Linked DNA regions of Homo sapiens: region 1 is linked to region 2. The links are contacts of gene promoters, found by promoter capture Hi-C in blood cells and fetal thymus (Javierre and others, 2016). All regions are on one chromosome and are shown on one strand. The core of a region is centred on a gene start or on the middle of the fragment in contact, and the rest is flanking DNA. Distances in the headings are between cores, read along the strand shown.

Region 1 (2,858 bases), core at 5-2,504, 1.0 Mb before region 2:
TTAACAAGTTTTTTGGCCTTGTGAGAGCAAAATGAAGATGTAAACTAGACAGTGTTTGTAAGTTTTATGAAGGTCTGTATAAGGAAAATATAATGACATTTTAAAGCGGGGGGCAGATTAAAAGATGATTTGGTAGCAGGCAGGATTCTTGCTGGGAGATGAATTTCCCTGGAAACTGCTCTCTTTCAGAGCTCAATTTGCACAAAGGCAAATCAAAGTGAGTTTTTAAAAGTACCACATAAGCCCTCTGATAGACTGAATTTACAGAAGTAACAAAGGCAGGAAAAAGCTTCTGCAGAAAATTAAGAGTGATGGACACAAGTCACAAAGCTAAAACGTTTAAGGGTTGCTTCATTCTAGGGTGTTCTCAGAAACAGCGGCTTGTGATTAACCCTAGCCAACACTTGAGGGCACCCTGGGTTCACAAGAGACACACAGACGCTGCGCTATTAAAAGCCTCTTCCCTGATGACTTTCACTTGCATGCGTGAGTGGATGTTCCAAGCAATTCAGACTCTGGGGTTGCCCTGAAAGTGTCAAACCTGGGGGCCACAGAAGTGACAGTGATTTTTCTTTCCTCCAGGGCTCGCATTCACTCAATGAGTCTGCATTCTAAGTCAATTGCTGCATTCTTAAATTCAGCCTGGAAAGGTACTCCCCCAGGGGACAGATACAGACTGGAAGGCCAGCCCCACCCTCTAGCTCTGAGGGCCAGAGACTCAGGCAGAGCAGGCAAAGCACAAAGTGGCCTTGGTGAAAGTCTTAAGAACCCAAGGGTCAAGCATGTGCCCTTGAGAGCAAGGGCTGCAGAGAAGAAATGTTTAATGGGGCATTTTTTGCCTTGCATTTCATAAAAACAACCTAGCACATATTTTGCATTCTGTCCCCTTTATTGATTTTTAAAAAGGCATCAGGCAAACTGGCCTGACACTGTATTTCCTTTCTATGGAGATTGTAAGAATCTGAGCCCTCTTCCCCCAGAAGGGCTGAGATGGGAGCCAAGTTGAAGGAAGAGGCAGGAAGAACTGGGCATTTGGTGGGAGGTGGCTGCGGAGATGAGAGTCTCAGGTGAGGCAGTCCCTCCTCCAGTGGCCCAGTGGCTCAGCAGAACCTGAGGGGTGAGGGGGGCGCATAAGGTGGCCAGGCGTGACCACTCTGATAACGATTTCACCAGGTGAGGGGCTTGGCTTTCACAGGCACGGTGCTGACATGTAAGGGTTACTTGATGGCAACCCACGGACTGGGATTTGGTAGGGAAAATCTAATAGAGCAAAGGGATGCCTGGCTAGACAGACAGAGATCCAAGCTAGGACAGTGGGGCCAAAGGACCACTCTAGGGCCACAGTTAAGAAGGAAATGTGATACATTCCTGAAGGACTAGTGAGAAAAGGACTCTAGAACCAGGGACAAAGGAAAGGGACAACCATGGACATTCTGGGGTGGAGGAAGACAGGGTCCCTGCATGGGAGGCTTGGGTGACATGGGAAGATGGTCTCCAGACCGGCTGATCCTGTCTCCAAACCACGTGCTATCATTATAACCAGAATGCGTTTGTGAATTCCAGTCTGGGAAAACAGACAGATTCAAAAGAGTGAGCTAGAAACATATACTTTATGATTTTGATAATGCTTTATGGTTTTAAAAATCCCTGGCAGGAAAATAAATTTATCTGCAAAACAATCTTTGGCTACCTTGATGTATTAGAAATTACTGGAGAGATCCACAGAGCTTTTTAATGATATTAAGAGTGATCATTAATATTATATGAATAACTGTTCTTCTTTCCATAGGACAGAATAATAGGGAAAAGCTCAAAATCTTAGGTTAACAGAGTATTTCCTGACAGTGAGTATTAAAAAATGTAGACAAAGTAAAATCCATTTGGGGGTGGGGTGGAGAGAGGATTTATAAAAAATAAATATAAATCAACACTTAGAGTCTCATTTGTACCAGGAAAAGGGGTGGACCCCAGCCAATATGCCTGTCTCAGATGCTTTTGATCATTTTCTTCTACCCTCAGATAGCAATGTGATTGTTTCTTGGTTACAATAATAATACATGTCTATGTGGCAAGCAATACAGAAAATAAAAGAAGTAAATAACTCCAAGTTTCATCACTCAGAGATAAACATAATTAACATTTTGGATTTAGTACAATTATTAGTATTTAATTAAGCCATGAGAAGATTTAGTGACAGTCTTGGGGAAAGTAGAAGCTTCATTCATTAAGATTTTTGAAATCTGAATTATGGTTCAGAACACATCAGAGGCAGTCTGTGTATTTATTTCACATTGAATGTTTGGGCATATCTATGTCAGATGTTACCTTCCATGCCTGGAAATTTCCATGGAAAATAGGCAGTTCATAAGGGCTAAAAGAGTGAGATCAAGTGAGTGACACCATTGTAAAGCTAAACATGGAGGTTTGAGTAATGTTTGCCTTCTGTCTCACTCCAGCTGGGGCTCTCAGAACCACTTCCACCGACACTCTCAAGGAATAGATGGAAAAGTAGGGATGCAAATAATGCTGTTATTATGCCACATTGGCTGGCTGGATGTGTAGATGCATTACATTTATTTTTAAATTTTTAATATCTCTCTCTCTCTCTCTATATATATATATATATACACACACACATATATATACACACACATATATATACACACATATATATATACACACACACATATATATACACACACACACATATATATATATATATAATAACACATATATTTAATAATAGAGACAGGGAGGTGGTTTCTCCCTATGTTGCCCAGGCTGGTCTCAAACTCCTGGCCTCAAGCAATGCTCCTGCCTTGGCCTCTGAAAGTGCTTGGATTACAGGTGTGAGCTCC
Region 2 (2,991 bases), core at 457-2,956:
TAAAAGAATGGGTGAAGTGGGCATAGTGGCATGAGATTGTAGTTCCGGCTATTTGGGAGGGTGAGGTGGGAGGACAGCTTGAGCCCAGGAGTTGGAGATTAGCTTGGGCAACACAGAAGAATGCGCTAATGAATTAATTAAACAGTGGGTGAGCAGGAAAGGTGATAGGAATTTAGGTCTGATTTAGACACGGAGGGTATAAATGGACTACTGTTAAAAAAAATAAAAAAGAGGTCTAGTTCTTTGCATATTTATTATTGCTCTGCCTAATTTACAGAGTTGAGGCGAGGAATTTTATTTAAGTAAGTTACTTATTCAAGTAAGTTTATTTTTTTATTTTTTGAGACATGGTATGACTCTGTTGCTCAGGCTGGAGTGCGTTTGCTCAATCATAGCTCATTATAACCTCAAACTCCTGGGCTCAAGCGATCCTCCCGCCTCAACCTGAGTAGCTGGGACTACAGGCCCATGCTACCATGCCCTGCTAATTAAAAACAAATTTTTTGCAGAGATAGGGGTCTCACCATGTTGCCCAGGCTGGTCTTGAACTTCTGGTCTCAAGCAATCCTCCTGCCTCGGCCTCCAATGCATTGAGGTTACAGGTAGAGCCACCACCCCCAGCCTCAAGTTAAGTTTAGAAGATAATCACCAATCAAGCATTTTAAATAGCAGTGGCTTGAATATACATAGTAAAAACACAAAATAATAATAATGATAATAATGGCAAAGCTACTCCATATAGTGAAAAGGGCAATGAATTGGGAAGTCAGAAATCTCTAGCTCCATCCATTTATGACAAAACTTAGACTTTATATGTGCTAGATGCTGGAGACTCCAAGGTGAATACTAAACACTTGCTATGGGAAAACAACTTGGTCTTTTCTTGAATCTTCTTCTCACTTGGCAAGTGGAAGCTCACTTGGCTTTGTTTTGAATTAGTTTGAATTAAAAATGTTCAACTAGACTGAAACACATCAAATATATAAAATTCTAGTACTTCATTAAAACGCAATTGACTACTTTTGGAGGTTGCTAGGCATTACTATTATTATAAAAATTGATAAAAGAGGAAAAAATAAAGCATTTATCCTGCCTTTCCTGCATAATCTGTATTTCAGGTAACCAAAGCGTTGTTGAGAGAAAAAAAAAATGCAAAATACATCACTGAGATTAGTTGATGAGCTAAAACTTCTGATAAACGTATCTGTTTTGTCTACCTCAGAGGACACTTGAGGAGAGGCTGTCAAGGGATTAAAGGGAAAGGAAGCACTTGGTGGGCTGCAAAAACTCTCTTTAGGTCTAAGGTCGCATTCTGGCTCCAGAATGCCAGGGCTGCTGGGGCGGGCAGGAGCTGACAGCTCTTCCCGTATCTGGGGCTCACAAGCATCAGGTGCATGGCAGGTCACCCTCCCGGCCAAGGGTGTTAAGCAGGCTCGGTCTGAGTTCTGGGTGCGCCACGCCTGCCTTTCTGGTCTCTGCAGCAGCAACCCCAGCACCCTCAAAGCCTAGCGACCGAGAATGAGAAACCGTGAAAAAAACACGCAGCGGCAGGCCACGCCCAGAGTAGGCCTGCGCGCGCGCGCGCGGCCTCCCACTTCCGGCCACGGGAGCTGGGGGCGGGGCCGAGCGCTGCGCAGGGCTCCGTCGTGTGGCGAGCGGCTGCCCCCTGTCTGCGACGAGCGGCGGGACCCGCGGGCCGCCTCGCAGACTGCTACCCCGCCGCGCTCGCGGCCGCCTGCGTCCTCCTCAGCAGCCCTGCGACAAGTCCCGGCTCCTGCTGCGATTATATTATTTTTATTTTTAATTCACAATTTCCCCTGGCCCTCAAAGCGTTTTTTTGTTTGCGGGCAAGAGGGAGTTAGAGGAGGGTAAAAAAGACTTTGAATGTGAGGCAAAGATGGAGGAAGGCGTCCAGGCCCCAGACTGGGACAGTGATGAAACTGTGATAGAGGGTTCAGTGACGGAGAGCGACCTGGAAGAAAAGGAGCTGCCCTGGAGAAGGTGACCATCATTAGGGCCACAGTGCCTGAACCCTCGCGCCAGGGCGGCCCAGGTGCCCTCTGAGGGGGTCAGAGTTTTGAGTGGAGATCGTGACCAGAACATGTGCTTGTGGGCAGGATCAGAGCCTTGTGGGGCAGCCGTGCCTGAGCTGAGAGCTTGTAAATAAGCAAACACAGTCTGTTCCCACCTACCCCCAACCAGCTAGGGATAAAATGAGGTTTGTACTAGGTGGCTTTATAGCATTTTTCAAAAGGCTTTCCTTTTGGGGGCTTTAAGTCTTTTTGCACAAGCAAAAAAGATCTTGGGTCTGAACTTAACTGCATTTTGTTTCAGGAGACTTCATTTTGCTTCAAGAGACTCGTAGCTCAGTTCTAGGAAAATGGGTAACAGTTTCTCTCAAGAAAAGAATGTGTGATGGGGAAACTGGTCCCTGCCAAACTGGAAACGAATAGTTTTATACGAATCCAAAAAAGTCGGTATTTCAGGTTATCGAAACCTTTCTCTAACATATTCTCTGTGCTAGACACAGGGAAAAGAGGGCAGGGATGAGGCCACTAGGTCTGCTTCATATGTGCTCAGGGCTGTGTCTGGGACTTAAGTTGGATCGTACACAGAATTAGGTCATTCTCCTTTCCCTCTCTCTCTTCTCCAGGATTCTCCTGCCCCCTTTCCTCATCATACCCACTTGCCAGTTCATATGATCAGAAAGACAGGTTTCTTTGAGTGTTAGCCTTTTCACTATACAGCAGTTCCTTACAAGGGGGACAGCCTTTAGCACAGAGTTAAGAAAAGAGAGAAAAAAGGGGGATTCTGTCCACACTTTTCAGGCAATACCGATCCCTTTTCCCAGTTCCTCTGGTAGACACTTTCTCTTGAGTTTTATGTTCCCCAGTTGCCATGGTTGGTGTCTGCTCTGAGGCTAGGGCCAGCCTTGGGGCAGGGCTGGGAGGTGAGAGAGAAAGCAACATAAAGCCCTGGGCTTTGTCCTAT

The links. The method cuts DNA at HindIII sites, captures the fragments that hold promoters and counts their contacts. A CHiCAGO score of 5 or more calls a contact.
Region 1: a fragment that was not itself captured here is called in contact with the fragment with the promoter of ANKRD31 in region 2 in 4 of 17 cell types (total B cells, endothelial precursors, naive B cells and 1 more); the score reaches 8.9 in total B cells.

What each region holds. Positions count from the first base shown.
Region 1 is chr5:76,254,010-76,256,867 of GRCh38, reverse strand. All of the region lies in intron 4 of SV2C (synaptic vesicle glycoprotein 2C), which reads right to left. Among named protein-coding and RNA genes, the nearest start is that of SV2C-AS2, 56 kb to the left of the region's middle. The HindIII fragment of the contact is 1,926 bases long and covers 292-2,217 here.
Region 2 is chr5:75,235,593-75,238,583 of GRCh38, reverse strand. It overlaps ANKRD31 (ankyrin repeat domain 31), which reads left to right and starts at 1,706. Exons shown (of 26, transcript NM_001372053.1): 1 at 1,706-2,001. The coding sequence starts at 1,898. It overlaps LOC124901006 (a long non-coding RNA gene), which reads right to left and starts at 1,546. Exons shown (of 2, transcript XR_007058823.1): 1 at 1,218-1,546. RefSeq lists a silencer at 1,466-1,765 and an enhancer at 1,816-1,985. The HindIII fragment of the contact is 5,895 bases long and covers 1-2,991 here.